Linked DNA regions of Homo sapiens: all the other regions are linked to region 1. Evidence: promoter capture Hi-C in 16 types of primary human blood cells and fetal thymus (Javierre and others, 2016). All regions are on one chromosome and are shown on one strand. The core of a region is centred on a gene start or on the middle of the fragment in contact, and the rest is flanking DNA. Distances in the headings are between cores, read along the strand shown.

Region 1 (2,764 bases), core at 136-2,635:
ACAACATTCTATTCATATATTTGTAAATGAGTTGAAATGAACTCTCATTGAGAGTCCTACCTCTGGGTGTGCTGTCATTAAAGACACTGACAAAAGCACATTATTTTACAGGTAACAACAAAGTCAGAAGTTGTTGTTCTAAATCTTTTGAACGTTTTCAATAATGTCTTACCACTCAGAGCAATACTATCCATAACATATAACTTTGGTTCTATTCAGTATCATTTGTTAGGCTTGAACTACTCCTTCAGGTCATCTTAATATCAAATTACTATCAATAGCCACCAATTAGAATTTGCTACACGTCACTGTTTACACACCCTATCCATGTTATTTCATGTTTTCATTAAAAAAAAAATTCTATTCCTTTTTTAGCAGTTAAATAAGTAATAGAATTTTAACTAAACCCAGGTTTATTTCAAAGTTTTTGCTTTTTACAATCAAAACCTATTTGTGGCTAACTTAGGTACAACAAATAAAAGGCTTTTATGTGAACATGAGTTGTACATTAAATTATTTTCCATGTTATTTCCGAATAGATACACCTATTTGTGCACCCTTCAAAAAAAATCTGATTAACTATCTAGTCGAGTACTGGCTTTGGCAACAATGTCAAAAAGCAGAGCCACTAACACACGTGCTTCTCTGCTGCAGGCATCTTAAGGGCTGAGTAGGCAAAAACACAGGCCTCTTCCCTCCTTTTCGGCTCTAAGGAGGCGAAAAGCCCAATTCTTGTGGAGAAATGATCCACAAAGAAAATGTCAGAATTTCCCAAACCGAAGAGGGTAGAGCTTCCGGAAAAGGGGAAAATAGTATGGAGGAAAAGTTTGAGTAAAAATACAAAACAAGGTGAACTATAAGAGGCAAAAGGACGAGTGCGAGAAAGCAATATTTTCCGTGAACAAGAGTAAAGTTCTGCAGAGAAAAGTCACGTGGGGGAGATCCAACACCAAGCTGGCCTGACTGGAGAGGTTTCCTATCGCTAAAACCTGGCCGGGGCGGGGGAGGGGGGTGGGGGCAAAAAGGTAGGCCATCTCGCACTCTAAAAAGAGAGGCTACCTTGCGGAGGTAATGTCGAGGAAACGCTGAAGACATATCTAGAACAAAGGCTCCCGGAAAGACCTCTCTCGTGAGGAGATTGGGAGCCTTCTTCCCGCCAGGGAACTGGCGGTTCGCCGCCTCAACCCGTCTTAAGGCACAGAAAATCATAAAAAAGGAAAATGCCGGACGGACCTCGGAAAGCTTCCACTAACAAACTCCGTCCCAATTCAGGACCCTTCTTGAACTCACTTTTTGTCAGGGCAAATCCAGTCCCCGTCACTGACTCGGAAATTCTTGGTCGACATCTTGAACGCCACCAGCACAGCCACCCGCAGCTATGTCTTCACAGGAGGAAAACGGGCCGGGGACTTTCGGCAACTCGGGGCTGTCCCCACACTGCCTGACTCGCGCCTACTACTGTGTCAGGGTTTGATAATGAGGGAACTAGCCAGGAATTCAGCTTGTACGTTGTTGTCCAGACTAAGATGCCTGTGCTACTGTTTGTTAGATGGAAAAGTTAAAATACAAATATCTTTTCTAGAACTAAACTCACAGGCGCCATAAGGACAACCCAGGCAGGAGGCCTTCGTGGCACTAGAAGCCTCGGAGAGCCCCCTACAGGTGGGAGGACCCAAGAGTAAAGTACTTCCGCTTCCTTAGGTGGAGCTGGAAAGGTGGAGGCGGAAGTGACTGATCAATTCAGGGGCGTGGGGTTCGTTTAGGGTAAGAGGCGGCTCGGGCTCTTCAAGTGTTTAGAGAAATTATTTTAATAAGGCATAAAAATTCTGTTATTTCATACACATGGGATGTCGTTTGGAAACCTATTTTTATATATACATAAATAGGTGTAACAGATAAGTAAGCAACTTATACATGGGAACCAGCTGGTAATTTTAAAACTGAGACATTGTCAACACTGTTTAAATTACCAGTGTCTTTTCTGATACCATCCCATTACTTTCTTCCACAGATAACACTTTCCCATATTTGGGATTTATTCTTTTGCTTTTTAAAAATTTATGTACGTTGTTAGTCCAAACTGCACCATTTTTGTAAGCCCCCCTGCCATTTTGCAGACCTTAGTCAAAGTGAAACATTCCACGGGGTTCGGGCGTGAGAAACAGGCTGCCTCTTATACTCTGCTGGGAGAAAGTACCACATTCCACTGGAACAAGGGCCAGAGCCGCCTCGTCCTGGGAACACCTTATCAACATGTTCCCAGGAAGCAGGCCATGGCCCCCCAGACCACTCCCACCCAGGCCTATAAATCACCCCAGCCTGTAAGAAGCAACGGGCACTGGCATTAAGCTGGTCTCCCACCTCTGTAGGTCTTATGCTGGACATAAATCCTGTATTTGTTGTTAAGCCACCCTCTCTTTCTTTAATCCTTGCCTTCCCTTCAAAACCTAACATACATGTATGTTTAATTTTATGAGCTGTGTAAGCATAGTTGATTCTGTACTCTTTTTTTGTTCATTATGCTTCTAAATTAATCCTAGGTAGTTGCATGTAGAAGTGTATAGGTGTAATTCTTTTATTTGCACTGATGTATACTGATACTATTCCGTTTTGTGGTTTTGTGACAGTTTATTCCTTCTGTTTCTCAGGCTTGGTATTACAAACAACACCAGTATGAGCATTCTTATGCATAGATTCTGGTATATAAATGCATTAATTTTTTTTAGAATACAGCATATACAGTCATGCCTCACTTAATGATAGG
Region 2 (2,764 bases), core at 182-2,681, about 16 Mb after region 1:
TGCTGCTCAGACGACAACGCCACCACAGAAAACTGGCCCAGGACCTAACCTGCCCTTCCTCTTCCTTGGGTTTTTTCTGTTGGTAACTACTGTTCCCTTTTCTCTCCACACCTTTTACACTCTGGAATTGTTGTCCTAGACTCAAGCTTTTTGTATTCACGTTGGAGGAAACTGAATATCAAGGGATCTCTGTGATGGCAGCAATAAAGTTGAGCAGATTTTTAAAAATTTTCCTTCCTAAAAAGACTTTCTTCAAAAACGGTTTTGCATTGACTTTAAAAGGACAGAATATTTTTTCCTGAGAAAGAGCTGGGGCATGTTGTCTTGGAGGTCATATCAGCATCAAATAGCCTAGACTTTCTCCAGACATTAAAGGCTGCATAGGTCTGTGTAGAACCTCTGGCTGTCCATGGGAGATTCTTAGCGAACTGTCACTTGGAGAAAAGAATGATTATGATTGAAGGACATAAACGAGAAAGGAAGCTATGAACAAATAATTTTGGGGCAAGTGGAGAAAATGACGGCTTGATCTAGGAGCAGTATGGTTCCCACATTTAATTAGGATTCAAGAAAGAAACGATTTACATTTATCTTTCTTTTCCAAAGCCCCCTAATCTTATATCTCATTGCAGATGAGTAGGATGAATGATGAATGTGTGATATCAGCAGAGGTTTCGTCAACTGTGGGGCACAATATAACATTATTTCGAGTTAGGCAATTTTACTTCATACCAGGAATATTACTTTATGCACTGTTTTTAATATTTGTTTGAAGAATATCCGAATACAGAATTTCTTTACCCATACTGAATTTGTGTGTGTTTACAAGGTTTTTGTGTTTCGCATCAGTGGAAATAAAAGATTGACGTTGCTACCCACTCAACCAGGCATTTTCAGACCACAAATCAGGATGAGAAAGGACTGCTAAACGCAAAGAATGCAGAAATAAAGATTACCCAGAGGTGGCGCTGTGGTAAAAGTACACCTGAATTTTGATTACAGTGAATGTATTTACTCCCTACCTCTCAGAAGAGAGACTGTTAGCCATTATCGCTTTTGTATTTCTATAAACACACATCAGCAAATAAAGCTCTCTGGTAATACACTCCCATCCACTCCAATCTACCAGGACATGTTTAAAGACCTCACTCCGCACAGAATTAGAGCTGAAGCACTAAAACCACCTCCTAAAATGTAGGCCCTGTAGCCTAGAGCTCTGTTATTCAAAGTTTTATCCATCTCACTCTCCTTCCTTCCACAAACACCACCGGGATCCTCTGGATAATCACTCAATGATAGCTGAACATGTGTCTGGTTAAATTTCTAACATTTCCTTCAGGAATTAAGATTTCGTTTTAGTGCATATTCTTCAGGAAAAATCCTGAAAAGTACCACAATTCGTTATACATCTATGCATTATGTGCTCTATCTAAGAAAATCATTTTTAAAAAGAAAAAATAAAGACCATTTGGCTTAATTCTCTCATTTGTGGATGAGAAAATTAAGGCCCAGAGACGGAAATTTACTTGCACATGACAAATCATAACTTAATTGTAGCCCACTAAGATCTTGTGTCATCTCCTTTTATTATAAATTATTTAAAAAGTGAAAATGAACCAGGGGATTCAAATGTATTATTTGTTTATGGTGTTCCTCTCCTCATCTGGTTTAATTGAGTTTTCTTGACTAACCTTCAAGCAGCATTACATCTTTTCTAAGTTGGTCCTCTTTAATCATGCCCATCTGTAGCTGTTTTCTGTGTAGGACATTTTAATTACTATTATAGTTTTAATGACTTTTTTTTAAAAAAAGTTTTTTATATGTGCACAAGGTGAATTCATCATAGCAGTGCAACTTTAAATACAAATCAATAAAATTAATTCATTTAATTTTAAGGTGCTAGAATTAAAAAATGAGTATTTGAATTGATATTTAAAATGCCCTCTACCTGACTGTATGGGCAATAATTATTCTTTCTTATGCAGCCTTATTAATTTTGATGGTTTGAAAGACAGAAATCCCCCAAATAGACACTAAAACCCTAAATGTTCAACATCTGCATTGTCTCGCCAGATTCTCCTTCAGGTTCCTTTCCTCAATCTAGCAGTACTGTGTGTAACACAATATGAAAACTTGCCCCACAAGGCTGGTTTTACTTAATGATACTTAGCAGAAGGGCTTTGCACTTTCATGATAATTTCCACCAGAAAAATCTCTCTGGAACTTACTAACAATAATCAGGCCTAATATTAGCCTCAGTCTGGAGATTTATTTAACCTATTTGGCAGAGTAGATAAAGTCGAATGCCTAGGTATTCAAGCATCTAGGCTGTGCTTCGGCCTTGGAAAAAGACTCTCAGGCTAGCACCCTAAAAGCATTCCTCAAAACTTGATTTATACTAGAAGTGACATTTCTTACTCTCTAGAGGCTGTGAGATTGCAAATCTTGCAATTACTTCCATTGCTTTTGGGGGCTGTGAGAATTTCCGCCTCTCATCCTCCACAGTGAGGAGGGTAGTCGGGAAAGGCTTTCTCCCTTAAGTTTTCGTCAACTTTGAAAATAAGGACTGTGCTCCCTACATCACCAGCAATTGACAAGGATCCAGGAAATGCCTGCTAGGCACTTTCAAACTCGGAAAAATGGGAGTATGAGGGAGGCTAAGTAGGCAGTATTTAGCTAGCAACTATTATTTCCTTTATGTTTCTACCTTGTTAACTAAGCTTCCACTACGGTTCATAAATCTCCAATATCGTGAATTAAAGAA
Region 3 (2,764 bases), core at 265-2,764, about 16 Mb after region 1:
TTTCACCATGTTGGCCAGGCTGGTCTTGAACTCCTGACCTCAAGTTATCCACCCACCTCAGCCTCCCAAAGTGCTGGGATTATAGGCATGAGCCACCGCGCCTGGCCTTTATAATTTTTAAAAATACACGGTAACTTGTGATAAGACCTTGGGCCCTTGGTGCAAACAGAAATCAGTTAACTGTGAGCACACCCTGTCCCCCAACTTCATGACCTCACACACACACATAAGTTAAAAACCCATGAAATTCTGTACCCTCAATGAAAGGGTAGACTAGATAGAAGCTTTTCTTCTGGCATAGTAAGAAGCTTTTCTGTCAAGGCACAAGCTCTGAAAGAGAAAAAAACAAGGAAGATCTCTCTCCCTTGAGAATTTGAATCATAGTTTGTACTCCCACAAATCTGGGTTCAAATTTATAATATCTGAATGATCTTAGAACTTCTAAGCCAAGAAAGAAATTCATGTAAAAATTGCTCACTAGCCAGTGATAACCTTAGGGGTCTCTGACAGAAGAAACATTTTTTTCTGTATCACTAAAAATGAGCCATAAAAAAAAAAGCTAAAAGGAATCAATGTACAAAGCAAAAGGAATCAATCCACAAACAAAAAGGTCATCAAATACACAAATAGAAGTATTAGACCCCTAAATGCAAAAGGATTTATCTATATGATATCATTTATGCAGTTTAAAAATATAACATAGTAGTACCATTCATAGATACATATAAATTCAGTGAAAGTACAAAAACATAACAGATATTAATCATACCAATTTAAAAATAGTGGCTAACTCTGGGGAAGGAATAGTGTCAAGAAAAGCCTGAATAATTGATCCAGACTGAAGGAGAATTGAGCAACAAGCTAACTGGATGCAGCACATGATCTTTCTTGGCTGGGACGTTTTTGCTGTAAAGACATTGGAATAATTGGCAAAGTTTGAGTGGGGTTTCTAGGCAAAGGGTACACAGAAGTTTTTGTACTATTCTTGCAACAGTTTTCTTAGTTTGTAAATTGTTTCAAGTTAAAAAATTTGTTTTTAAAAAGAGGATGAAAATGAAAAATAGGAAACAGTTTCAGAGAAGAAATTGCCAGGATAGACCAATTGGTGGTGGGAAATAAGAGGAAATAATCAAAGGGGACTCAGATTTCTGGCTTAGGTGATTTGGTGTGTATGATTCAATTTATCAATGTAGGAAACCCAAGAAAAGAAGAATTTTCAGGAAAAGCAAACTATAACAGACTTGCCACTGGAAATATTGAATCTATGGATAAATAGTTGGAAATTTAGGCTGGGGGTGATGGTGTCACAAAAGAGCTTAGCACTGTAAACATCTTGATTTGATTACTTTTTTCACTTACTAAATCATTTGGGAATTCACTATGTTGCCTGTGTAAACCATAAAATATATAAAAATAAATAGGAAACGGACACTGCCCTTAAGGGACTGATATCTGGTAAGAGAAGTAGAATCAGTCTGTAGGCAAAGGGTAGAGACTGATGGAGCAAGTTCTAGAGGGTGACAAATTAGTTCTCAACCTTGGTCACACATTAAGAACACCTAGAGGAACTCCTAAAACATCCCAATGCCCAGTCCACACTCTGGGACTGGATCCAGGCATCAGTGGTTGCTTAAACTCTCCAGGTGATGCTGATGTGCAGCCAAGATTAAGGGAGCAGTGGCTCTACTCAGAACACCTGAGACACCTATTCCTTTGAAACATTTGGCAATGATGCAGGAAAGAGTGTGGAGAGAACAGGAGGTGGAAATAAGGAAATTTGGTTGAAGAGGCTTCTGCCAAACAGAGTGATGATTTATATTTTCTCTGTAAAGAAAGCGAATCAGCTGGGTGCGGTGGCTCACACCTGTCATCCCAGCACTTTGGGAGGCTGTGGCAGGCGGATCACTTGAGGCCAGGAGTTCGAGACCAGCCTGGCCCACATGGTGAAACTCTGTCTCTACTAAAGATATAAAAAATTAGCCGGGCGTGGTGATGCATGCTTGTAATCCCAGCTACTTGGAAGGCTGAGGCAGGAGAATCCTTGAACCCAGGAGGCAGAGGTTGCAGTGAGCTGAGATCACACCATTGCACTCCAGCCTGGGTGACACAGCAAAACTCTGTCTCAAAAAAAAAAGTGTCAAAGGCTAAGAATAAGGATATATGAAAATAAGGTAAGTCTTTTATGGAGAATGGGGAAACAGGATTACAGCTACAGAGGGTGCAAAAGAAAGAAGTAACATTGTTGTTTTCCCAAGACTGGGAAGATTGAAACACTTGAGGATGAGGATTCAGGGACACCACTGTGTCCACCATTAAAGAATTTCCCCTTTAATGGTGGACACGGTGGTGTGATCCTTTTGTAGAGACGAGCATAGGTTATGGCAAATATACCTACTTTAAAAACAGTGCTCTGGGAAGAGAGTAAGTGCTTTTCCACATAAAGATCTAAAATAGACAATAAATGAGAAATAGGGTTTTTTATTATATATTCATTTTTCCATATTTCTGGAAAATGAAACAGACATGGAGTATTTCAAAGCTGGGAGAGATCATTATATTGGAGTTACCTTAGAAAGAGGGGGCTGTTTCTGCCACCACAACAAAGAATGAAACAACACAAATATTTACGTTTTCTTCTTGTCCTCATAATGCTTTTACTGCACTCGTCTTTCAACCTTTAACATCTACTGCATCTGTGACTGTTGTTTCAGTAAAACACGGAAGCTTGAATGTAAGCTCATTTCATTGCCTGCTGCACAACCAC
Region 4 (2,764 bases), core at 185-2,684, about 15 Mb after region 1:
AACATCACTAATGATCAGAGAAATGCAAATCAAAACCACAATGTGATACCACCTTACTCCTGCAAGCACAGCCATAATCAAAAAATAATAATAGATGTTGGCATGGATGCAGTGAAAAGAGAACACTTCTACACTGTTGGTGGGAATGTAAACTAGTACAACCGCTATGGAAAACAGTGTGGAGATTCCTTAAAGAACTAATAGTAGAGCTACCATTTGATCCAGCAATCCCACTACTAGCCACCTACCCAGAGGAAAAGAAGTCATTATATAGAAAAGATACTTGCACATGCATGTTTATAGCAACACAATGTCCATCAAACAATGAGTAAAAAAACTGTGATATACATATATATATAATATATACATGATAAAATACTACTCAGCCATAAAAAGGAATAAATTAACGGCATTCACAGCAACATGGATGGAATTGGAGACTATTACTCTAAGTGAAGTAACTCAGCAATAAAAAACCAAACATCATATGTTCTTACTTATAAGTGGGAGCTAAGCTATGAGGATGCAAAGGGGTAAGAATGAATCAGTGGACTTTGGAGATTCAGGGTGAAAGGGTGGGAAGGGGGTGAGTGATAAAAGACTACCAATTGGAATTCAGTGTACACTGCTCAGGGATGGGTGCACCAAAATCTCACAAATCACCACTCAAGAACTCACTCATGTAACCAAATACCACCTGTTCCCCAAAAACCTATGGAAATAAAAAATTTTAAAAAACCATTTAAAAATCCTTAAAGATGAGCAATTTTAAAATATTTTAAAATGTTTAAAGATTTAAATTTCCTATACAGAGACAATTTTGCCAGTCTACTGCCAAGAGGACATGTACTTAAAGCTTTTTCCAGGAGTGCTTGTAGGCTATGCTGATCCAGCTACATTCACTAAACTATGTTCCACTGTGGCCAACAGCAAGCATTTGGGGATAACTGCTCAGGGACCATGATGCTAGCCATGGTCAGAGAAAAAGGAAAATCATGGTCCATGACCTTCCTTAACACCTAGATCAGACTAAGTAAATTAACTAACTTCAGATGAATATGTATTTTAAAACAATATCTCTGAAGAGAATAGCATATGAAACCTGCACATTTTGTTTTGCCAAACACAAATTCTTAGAAAACTAACTTCCACTGGCTTCAAACACAGCTTCTACTGAAAAAAGTCACCATGGCATATTCAGCAAGGAACACAAAGTAGATACAGGAATCCTCTTTTTTTCCCCCTACTATTCTGGACACTAGTCAAACGTTTACTAGAGAGGTAATTGTATGAAAAAAAAAAAAAGGATAGGAATCTTGGAAACAGGCAAAAAGCTGGAAAATAAATCTTATGCGTAAAAGCTACCAAAATGGAAAAAACGTTTTCTGATACAGAGAGATTAGATTAGATAACAAATTAGTAATCCCTCTCTCCAATGAAAAAAGAAGGATGTATATTTAAAAGATGGGCTGCAGACTGGATAATATAGGAAGAAGAGTTGACAGCAAGAGTGACTGTTCTGTAAACACGGCATGTACTTCAAAGCCAACATTCCATTTCCTTCTCAAAGTGTTGCCCTGATTTCTCCAGCCCATCAAGAACTCTAAACAAAAGTATTTTCAGAATCATATAGTTTAGAATTTAACTGCTCCATAAATGCTCATATTTTAGTTCTCTTTTAAACTTGCTATTAACTGTGAGGACAAATAATACGCATCACTCTCTGCCCTAAAAAATTACCTAACACAGTGGGGAGCATAGATTAGGTTCTCAAATATAAGTTAGGGTGACTAAATTATTTACTGTTTAAACTCGGACACTTTTGAGTGTCCATATAGAGCCCAATTACCCGGAAAAAGACCTGGCCAAAGATGTTCAGAATATTGTCTAATCCCAAATAAAGTCACCATCCTGTACCAGACAAACATAAAGCATATTCCTTTCCTTCAACACGACAGCTGTTGCCATTTACTGAGCAGAGCACTGACTGACCTTATAAACATCATCTCACAAAAGCTTCACAAGGTTGTTATTAAAAAGCTATAAATAAGTAAATTAAATCTTAGAAGGGTTAAATAGCTTGTCCAAGATTACAAGTAAGGAATTGGTGGAACTCAGTTTTGAATTAAAAGCCATGAGATGGTGAAACCGCATCTCTACTAAAAATACAAAAATTAGCTAGGCGTGGTGGTGGGCACCTGTAGTCCCAGCTACTCGAGAGGCTGAGGCAGGAGAATCACTTGAACCCGGGAGGCGGACGTTGCAGTGAGCCGAGATCGCGCCACTGCACTCCACTGCGGCAGAGCGAGACTCCATCTCAAAAAAAAAAAAAAGCCATGAGATACTAAAACATAAATATAAAAATCTACAAAGCAAAAAGTAACACACAAACTTGCCTTTATTCAGTCAGGTTTTAATACTCATAAGTTCAATTTAGATTCAAAAGATGAAAACTGTTCTGGACAAGGAAATGAGTGATGAATGAGCTAGCTAAAAGCACAGACTACAATTCTAAAGAGAGAGAGCAGACCGCGACCAGATCACTAAATTCCATTGTTCTAAAGTTTGTCACAAGGAACTTTTGGGATAGAAAAACTACACTATAAATACACATCCATTGTGAAATAAGAAGATGAAAAAGAGAAGCAAAAAGCAAATCATAAACATGATCATGACATTCTTACTATAAGCAGAATATCAAACTAATTTCAAAAGCAGACAGGTTTTCTGCAGTTTGTTTCTTTTTCCTTTTTTTTTTTTTTTT
Region 5 (2,764 bases), core at 194-2,693, about 15 Mb after region 1:
CTGGGTTGATTAAGCTAAACTGGGCAATTCCAGAGTTATGAAGGAAGTAATACCAGATTTTTATTAAGTCAAGGAAGAAGAAAGATCACTCAAATAAGAGGCAAAATATAAACGCAAGTTTTTTGTTAAGTGAATAGGGATCTAGAATTTGCAATGTAAACAGTCAGAATCAAGTCCATAAGCCAAGGAAAGGATGGGTCAGCTATCATTGGCTAAGTAGGAAACTGTTTTAAGAAATTACATGTAATTTTATAATTTAGAGGACTTTAGTTTCAGTAATGGTAGTGATAATTATAATAATTCTAATAGCAGTGACCAACCCTCCTAATATACCTTCAGGATAAGGGTGAACCAGAAACAATCTCTACTTTTAGAGCAAGCTAGGAAACTTGTATGGTTACACTGAAACAGAGGAAAAAAGAAAAAAAATCCATTAGCAGTTATGGCTATGGACCATCCCTTGCTTAGATTTGCAATTATTTTGCCTTGAAAACAGCACTGAATAGCCATACTCTAGAAAAAAAGTGGGAGGACTTAATCAGATAACAAGTTTCAGTAAAAAACCACAATAATTCAGAGAGCATAGTATTGGTGCAGGATATACCAGTAGGCCAACAGAATGGAAAAGACAAGGCCACAAAATGACCCAAGCATATAGGGATGCTGATATATGACAAAGGTGGTCCTACAGAGCAATAGGGAAAGGATGAACTTTCCAATAAATGGTGCTGGGAAAAGTGGATTATCTATATGAAAAATTAAATGGGAACTCCTCTGTATATGATACCAAAAATCAATTCCAGTTAAAGACATAAGTGTAAAACACAACAGTATAAAGCTTTTAGGCAATAACTATAAAAGAATAACTTCCTAACTTCAAGGTAGAGATGGATTTCTTTATAAACATATAAACCTACTAACTATAAAGGAAACAAATGATAAATTTGACTACATTAAAACTAAGAACATCCATTCACCACAAGACACTATAAAATGAAAAGACAAGACAAAGACTAGAAGAAGGTATTTATAACATACAACCAACTTGCACTAGCATCCAAGAAATACCAAGAATTCTCACAAACCAGTAAGAAAAATAAAGCTGACCAATGAAAAGATGAGCAAAAGACTTGAACAGGCACTGCATAAAAGAGGAAATCCAAATGGCCAATAAAGTATTTGAAAGGTGGTTCAATCTCATCAGGAATTAAAGAACTGCACATTTAAAACCACAATAAAATTACAAAGCCAACAGATTGACAAAAATTTTTAAAGTCTTACCAAACTAAGTATTGGCGAGAATATGACAATAGGTACATTCATACACTATTGGTGAGAGTGTAAACTAGTACAATCACTTTGGAAAATGTTTTGGTAACATCTAGGCAAATTGAAGATATGCATACCACACAACAAAGCAATTCTATTCCCAGGTATAAACCCTAGAAACACATGTTCACACACATACTATAATTCATAGACAAAAGTAGTGGCATTGTTTCTAAACTGTTTTTTATTCTTACAGAAAATCCAAAATCCATTAAAAAAATGCGTAAACAAATTGTGGTACAGTCCTAAGATAGAAAAAAATATAAAGAAATGAGAAAAGATCAGGGAAGGGCATAAAAGGGTGGCATGGAACTTCTGGGAAGCCAGTAATGTTCTAATTCTAGATTGGGGTGGTAGTTAAATGAATATTCATTTTATAATTATTCATTATACTGTGTATTTCCATTTTGTGATGTTTAGAAAATATACTTGCTATATTTCACAATTTAAAAAAAAATTGTAAAGTAATTTATCTTTAAGTAGAATTTTAATTATGCCTAATTAAGTTTGAGGAAAAATAAGAGTTGCTATATGAATAATTTTCTTTCAGATATGTGTAATGTAATTATGTCTGTACCAATAATACCAATAAAATAAGGTGTTTAAAAGGTATTAAAATTCTGCAACTCCAATACTAAAATGAACACAATTCCAGGATACGATTTAATCACACCATAAACAAATTTCTACAACACCAGTTGCCAAATATTCCAAATATGTAAGCTTTAATTTTGCATAGTATTTAAGGAATTAAAAAAGGAATGCAAGAGTATGAAAATTAAGTGTATTAGAATAGCAAGTCTTGTTAGCTCTTCCTTCAAAATCGCAATCTAATCCCTTCCCAATAATTCAAACAGTACACCCAAGCCACTATTATCTCACAAGGATCATGGGAAGAGCTGCATAATTGGTCTCCCTGCTTCCAATCTTCCATTCTTGCCCCGCTAAAGTTCACAAAGTGCAAGAGTGGTTTTTCAAAAGGCAAATTTATGTTCAAAACCCTTCCATGGTTTCCATTTGCACTTAGAATTAGAAACCCTCACCAGTTTCTTTTCTTTTTTCTTTTGAGACAGAGTCTCACTCTGTTGCCCAGGCTGGAGTGTAGTGGCGCAATCATGGCTCACTGCAGCCTTGACCTTCCTGGGCTCTGGTGATCCTCCCACCTCAGCTTCTCAAGTTGCTGGGAGTACAGGGGCACGCCACCACGCCTGGCTAATTTTTGTATTGTTTTATAGAGACGGGTTTTCACCATGTTGCCCAGGCTGGTCTTGAACTCCTGAGCTCAAGGAATGCTCTGGCCTCAGCCTCCCAAAGTGTTTGGATTACAGGCATGAGCCACTGCACCCAACTCCTCACCAGTTTCTCTAACTTCATTTTCAATACTCTCCTCCTCACTCACTATGCTTCAGTTACCTTGCAAATCTTTTAATTCCTC
Region 6 (2,764 bases), core at 89-2,588, about 11 Mb before region 1:
GAAGTGACAGCAAGACTAAGAATAGTCTAGCCCTTTTCAATCACCTAAGCCATCTATCAATACCTTGGAGAGCTTCCAATTTCAGGTCACCTCCCCCGACCCCCCTCCACCCCACAACATTCTCGGAAAAAGCAAATTTTCAACTGACAAAGGAAAATGGATACATTAATATCTTCCATGTTTTTCAAAACATTTCGTTTATTTTGCTACTTGAAAACGGTCTTCCCTTTTGCCCCATGTAAAATAAAATTGCTCATGATCTATGGTCCCGTGAGAGCTTATTTAAGGAGCACTGACGGATTCTATTTTCCTTATTAATGTGGCATATTTGCCACGTGTGCAAATGAAAACATCCCTTTCCAATGAGTGCCTAGGAGGAAATCAGCTCTTCCTTCCTCGAAGAGTTTTAATTCATGGGTATGATCTATTTCTTTCTTTCTTTATTTTGTTTTATATATTTTTTAGAGACAGAGTCTCGGTTTTTTGTCCAGGCTGGGGTGCAGTGGCATGATCTCGGCTCACTGCAACCTGTGCCTCCCGGGTTCAAGCGATTCTTCTGCCTCAGCCTCCTGAGTAGCTGGGATTACAGTCATGTGCCACCACCCCCGGCTAATCTTTGTATTTTTAGTAGAGAATGGGTTTCGCCATCTTGGCCTGGCGGGTCTCGAACTCCTGACCTCAGGTGATCCACCCGCCTCAGCCTCCCAAAGTGCTAGGATTACAGGCGTGAGCCACCTCGCCCAGCCGGTAGGATCTATTTCTGAAGACAATGTGGAAGCAGAGTGTGGGCCCTCCACAGGTGTAGCGAGGCGGCGTGCTACCGCGAAGAAGGAGGGAAGACGCCTGAGCCCAGCCGGTGCCCTGCTGCCCCTCTGCCTCTTCGGCCACTGGGGCTGAGCTTCAGCCTTACCAATCCCCGCCGCGCACGCGCGCTCGCTTCCCGCGCGCAACCTCCCACCCCCGCCCTCACTGCACCTGCCAGGTCATAAACCTCTTCCCACCCACTCTCACTCTCTACCCAAGGCTCAGGCTTGTCTCACGTTGATTGGCCAGAGCCCACGAGGGCACGTCCAATCAGCAATCCCCCCTGCGCAACCTATCCCGGTTCTTCCCGCCCCCGCCCCGCCCCGCCCGCCCCCCCGGGTACCTACCGTCTCTGTGACTGGTGCGCGGCCAGGTCACTCAGGGCGGCGGGGCGAGGTGTGCGGGAGTGGGCAGGACGGGTGGGAGGAGGGGAGGGGTGGGAGAAGGCGGGGCTCAGGTGCCTGGCAGCGCGGCCGGGGCCCAGGAAGGGGAGGGGGCGAACGCTGGAGCGAGGCGGGGGCGGGTGAGGAGGGGGTGACGCCGGACGCGTCGACAGCGCGAGGGTTCGCGCGTGAGCTGCGCGGGTCGGGCCTGGTACCGAGCTTTCCTGGGGGCTAGCAGGTCGTGGACGCCGGCTCCTGGAGGAGAGCCGGTAGGAGGGAGTGTGAAGGTGTCCGCGGCGTCGTCGACGGCGGCGCCGGCCATGGAGGAGACGCAGCCGCCGCCGCAGCCTAAGCTGCCCCTGTGCGACAGCCTCATGATCTGGGTGAGTGCGAGGAGGCGAGAGGGCGAGGGGGCCAGGGGGCCGAGGCGAGGAGCCTGGGGCGCCCGGTTCTCCCAGGTGAGCTGGGGCTACCTGCACAGGGTCCCGGCGCACCCTGCCCTTCTCACCTCGTGCCCTTGACCGAGAGAATGCCACCTGCGGGTCGACGGGCAGGTGTGTGGGCGCGGGTTGGTGTCCGGGGGTGGGGGTAAAGGAAGCTCTGGGAGCGTAACAGTGGAGGCTCTGGTCTCAACCAGAGGATTCGACCTGCCTGGTGCCCTAACAGCTGGGATATGAACCAAGCACCCATCCTCTTTTCTCCCCGCTGCCCCATTTTCTCCCCCTGAACAGCGCCCGAGCCCTCCACTTTCTGGATCGCCGACTCTCTTGCCTTGGTCCGCTTGGGCGTGAAGACCCTTTCCGAAACCTAACCCTGCATCCTCAAACTACCTTGCTCTACCTGGACACAGGTGGCCAGGAGGTGGCTGGCTGTTTTAGTTCCCGGACCAATGCTCCTTCAGGACTCTAGAACATCCGATTTTGTAGAAGCCGCTTCAAAGAGATGTTTGTATTTCCCGTATGGAGAAAAAGATGTGTTGGGAGTCGGGGGTCGTTTTCCCTTTTTCTCGCTGGCCCTCTCCTCCTCTAAATGGACAGCATTTTCTTTAAAGAAAATGAGTTGACATTTTTCTTTAGGATTTATCTGTGTTTAGGATTTTTGTTAATTTGTGTTGGGTCTGGACAGGCATATCTGTCCCCAGATTGTTCAATATTCCAGTCAGCAAAATGACATCCCACCTCTTAGAGTTACTTAGATATCAGTGCTGGCATTCAGGTGTGGTTCTTAACCCATATTGAGTAAAGATGGTGTTTGATGAGCCACAAGGTGCTGTTGATGATGCTCATCCCAAACCAGTTGTTTAGTTGCGTCTAGGGGAGTGTGTGCAGATGGAATGTAAACAGACGGGATCAGGAGGCTGTAATCGGTTGAGATTCCCTAGTGATCTAATGCATCTAATTCCAAAGAATGAGAAATCTAGGTTTATGGAAATGTGTGAAGCCTATTGGAAATAGCCATAATTTAAAGCATTTACACTTTGTAAGTAAATAACTTTTGCTTTTAGTGGAATGCAAATATTTAGGGTTTGTGAGTTAAAAGCAATTAGCTAACTGTTCAGCTGAATTTTCATTTGAAAT
Region 7 (2,764 bases), core at 127-2,626, about 10 Mb before region 1:
ATGGAGATATAAAAGGTCACTTTGGAAATGGTGCCAACCTACCATATCAAACTGAGTTAATGCACTACAGACAATGCACACAAAATTCACTGTTACCACCTACTTACAAGGCCTGGCCTGCTTAGCATCAGAGATTATTCAGACCATAGTATCTACAGAGCAATGCAGTACAGGTTGACACCTCTTCTGCATCTCAACGGTTCTTACCTTTTGACAAAACCTTCCACTCTCACAATAGGTTGATGTCTTGTTTTACAGGTGTTATGTAACCATCTCAAGGTCACACAGTCTAGTACCAGCTAAACCAGGCCCAAAACTTTTTTTTTTGGTTACTTAAAAAAATTGTTATTATTATTATTATTGTATTTTTAGTAGAGACGGGGTTTCACCATGTTGGCCAGGCTGGTCTCGAGATCCTGACCTGGTGATCCACCTGCCTCGGCCTCCCAAAGTATTATTTTTTATTTAAACTGAAGCCGCTACATCACATCAAGTGTATTTCTAGGTGAGAGTAGTACACCAAGTGGAAATGGATGCTCAGTGGAGGAGGCTAGGATTAAATGCCACAGGCTTGCTACAGCCAAGAGCATATCTGCATCTATGAGGGGCAGACCAGAACAGCAAAGCTAATGCCAAGGCCAGCCACAGTACGGCTACATCAGTCGACTAGTTGTAGAGAGCAAGACCGAAGCAAAAAATGTGATTCAACATAAAATATGAGGTTTCTCTAACCTCCAATTTAACTATGCAAGGTCCTGTTATTAATTAATTAGGTACCTTCACCAAGGACAGTTAAGAAAATCAGACAACTGCCAGGTTGCTTCCTATTACTCTTGACTTCTTACTGGATACTTTTAATCAAGCCAGGTAAGCACACGTTTTCCTCTAAGTTATTCAGCAAAATGTCCTATGCTCCTTAACTGACTCAAAGCAAACACAATTTTTTTTTTTTGAGACAGAGTCTCGCTCTGTCACCAGGCTGGAGTGCAGTGGTGTGATCTTGGCTCACTGCAACCTCCGCCTGCTGGGTTCAAGCGATTCTCGTGCCTCAGCCTCCCAAGTAACTGGGATTACAGGCACGCGCCACCACACCCGGCTAATTTTTGTAATTTTGGTAGAGACGGGGTTTCACCATGTTGGGCAGGATGGTCTCGATCTCCTGACCTTGTGATCCGCCCACCTCGGCCTCCCAAAGTGTTGGGATTACAGGCGTGAGCGACCGTGCCCAGCCAGCAATCACATTTTTAAAAACAACAACGAAAACCGCAGTAGCCTGGTTGTGTGCTTTCCATTTAAAGAGATAACTCCCTCCCTTCAGAGTCTTATTTCCTTGCTCTGCACCAATGGCTATTTTGTTGTTTAAAACAAACACTTAAACTGTTGACATTGAAATATCCAGACTACATGGTCTTAAAGAGTCTGGGTTAATGAAATAAGGTGAGTCAGTGAGATGAAGGACTTAATGTTCCAATAATTATCTTTTAAAACCCCCCTTTTAAATGTCAAAACTCTTACAGCTCTTCTCTTAGGGGAGTAGGAAGGGGAGGGGTCTCCTTTAATTTTGTGGAACCCAGGTTTTGTAAGGATATTGACAAATTAGATGCTTGGCAATTAAATTAGAATTTCACCGTATCTCCTGCCTTAAAAGAACAGCTTTATTCTTGAGGGAGCCCACCTAACAATTTTATGTTCAGTCATCTGCAGAGAATAGAGCCACTGTCTTTTTCTTTCCTAACCTAGGGTAGACGCTTTATTTCACTGCAAGTTCCCTGTGACATTTTGCACTCTCTTGATTTAATGCACCAAAGAGGATCTTTAACTCTTGGTCTACACTAGTGCAAATAAAGGTTAAATCTCTCACTAACCATCATGAACTAGCCTAATAACTCACGAGAGGCCCTGGAAAAAGAAACCGAGAGAGCAGGTGTGCAGACTTGATTAAAAGGTGCAAAACCCGCACAACCGCAGGCAAAGGTACTTTATCCTCACGTTGCCCAGTACCGGCTGCGAGGTGCGCAAGCAGGGGAACTTGTACTGCGCCAACAGAACGATTCCGAGAGCCGGGCCTAGTAACACAGGGGCTTTTCTTCAGAACGGTGTCCAGACCGGAGCTTGCGCCGAATGTAGGGGCTCCTATTGGCCACGCGCCGTAGGGGAGGAGACGACTGGCGGGGAGACAGACTGGAGGAGGGGAGAAGGGGGCAAGGCCTTTTCCCTGCCCCCTCCCTGCCCCCTCCGCCGCAGGCTGCCGCCGGTACCTCGTGCGTGGTTACTATGCAAATTGCAGCGATTGCGGAAATAAACAAGGGAGTTGGGAGAGGAGAGAGGGACTGCCGAATCGATTGCAACTTCTGCAAAGTCTCGTACAATCCAAAGCACGCAAGGCAAAACCAGAGCGAATCTGAGAACCAGCCAGCCCGGGTTGGATCGCTTTCAAAAGAGAGAGTGAGAGCGAGCGAGCGAGCGAGCGAGAGCGAGACAGTGAGAGAGGGAGAGAGCGCGCCTTGCAATTGCAAAAGCCTTCTGATTTGGAGTTAAAAAAAAAATTCTCCAAGAAGCCTGCAATTGGCCAACAGCTTTTTAAAAAATCTCTTCCGGGTTTTCAACGGTTCCAAGTTTATTTAGATATTTTTTAAATGCAAAAAAAAGGGGACAACAAATGAAGCAATTCGTCTGAGCATTTTAAAGTTTCTCACGTACTCTTTTTACATTGCAATGGTACGTGGTACATCTTAAACTTTCTATTTTGCATTTATATGATATG

The links. Contacts are between HindIII fragments. The CHiCAGO score rates a contact against its expected background, and 5 or more counts as called.
Region 2: a contact is called between a fragment that was not itself captured here and the fragment with the promoter of ZRANB2 in region 1, in 1 of 17 cell types (non-activated CD4 T cells). The highest score is 7.5, in non-activated CD4 T cells.
Region 3: a contact is called between a fragment that was not itself captured here and the fragment with the promoter of ZRANB2 in region 1, in 1 of 17 cell types (total CD4 T cells). The highest score is 6.9, in total CD4 T cells.
Region 4: a contact is called between a fragment that was not itself captured here and the fragment with the promoter of ZRANB2 in region 1, in 2 of 17 cell types (total CD4 T cells and non-activated CD4 T cells). The highest score is 7.5, in total CD4 T cells.
Region 5: a fragment that was not itself captured here is called in contact with the fragment with the promoter of ZRANB2 in region 1 in 2 of 17 cell types (non-activated CD4 T cells and total CD4 T cells); the score reaches 14.1 in non-activated CD4 T cells.
Region 6: the fragment with the promoter of HOOK1 here is called in contact with the fragment with the promoter of ZRANB2 in region 1 in 2 of 17 cell types (total CD4 T cells and activated CD4 T cells); the score reaches 5.5 in total CD4 T cells.
Region 7: a contact is called between a fragment that was not itself captured here and the fragment with the promoter of ZRANB2 in region 1, in 2 of 17 cell types (total CD4 T cells and naive CD4 T cells). The highest score is 6.4, in total CD4 T cells.

What each region holds. Positions count from the first base shown.
Region 1 is chr1:71,079,650-71,082,413 of GRCh38, forward strand. ZRANB2 (zinc finger RANBP2-type containing 2) reads right to left here and starts at 1,386. Exons shown (of 10, transcript NM_203350.3): 1 at 1,291-1,386. The coding sequence starts at 1,346. It overlaps ZRANB2-DT (ZRANB2 divergent transcript), which reads left to right and starts at 1,675. Exons shown (of 4, transcript NR_046217.1): 1 at 1,675-1,764. RefSeq lists an enhancer at 1,336-1,625. The HindIII fragment of the contact is 3,322 bases long and covers 1,241-2,764 here.
Region 2 is chr1:87,325,195-87,327,958 of GRCh38, forward strand. No RefSeq gene overlaps it. Among named protein-coding and RNA genes, the nearest start is that of LMO4, 2.3 kb to the right of the region's middle. RefSeq lists a silencer at 869-918. The HindIII fragment of the contact is 2,574 bases long and covers 145-2,718 here.
Region 3 is chr1:86,701,040-86,703,803 of GRCh38, forward strand. It overlaps CLCA4-AS1 (CLCA4 antisense RNA 1), which reads right to left. Exons shown (of 5, transcript NR_135837.1): 1 at 2,568-2,764. Among named protein-coding and RNA genes, the nearest start is that of CLCA4-AS1, 2.1 kb to the right of the region's middle. RefSeq lists an enhancer at 2,741-2,764. The HindIII fragment of the contact is 2,416 bases long and covers 307-2,722 here.
Region 4 is chr1:86,392,093-86,394,856 of GRCh38, forward strand. All of the region lies in intron 1 of ODF2L (outer dense fiber of sperm tails 2 like), which reads right to left. Among named protein-coding and RNA genes, the nearest start is that of ODF2L, 2.8 kb to the right of the region's middle. The HindIII fragment of the contact is 1,160 bases long and covers 855-2,014 here.
Region 5 is chr1:85,702,837-85,705,600 of GRCh38, forward strand. The region is part of intron 4 of ZNHIT6 (zinc finger HIT-type containing 6); the gene reads right to left. Among named protein-coding and RNA genes, the nearest start is that of ZNHIT6, 4.2 kb to the right of the region's middle. The HindIII fragment of the contact is 1,214 bases long and covers 837-2,050 here.
Region 6 is chr1:59,813,611-59,816,374 of GRCh38, forward strand. HOOK1 (hook microtubule tethering protein 1) reads left to right here and starts at 1,339. Exons shown (of 22, transcript NM_015888.6): 1 at 1,339-1,570. The coding sequence starts at 1,508. It overlaps LOC105378758 (a long non-coding RNA gene), which reads right to left and starts at 1,256. Exons shown (of 5, transcript XR_947426.3): 1 at 1,152-1,256. RefSeq lists a silencer at 807-1,406 and an enhancer at 1,643-2,206. The HindIII fragment of the contact is 6,303 bases long and covers 1-2,764 here.
Region 7 is chr1:61,074,911-61,077,674 of GRCh38, forward strand. It overlaps a transcript of NFIA not described here. Among named protein-coding and RNA genes, the nearest start is that of NFIA, 6.3 kb to the right of the region's middle. The HindIII fragment of the contact is 3,593 bases long and covers 1-2,764 here.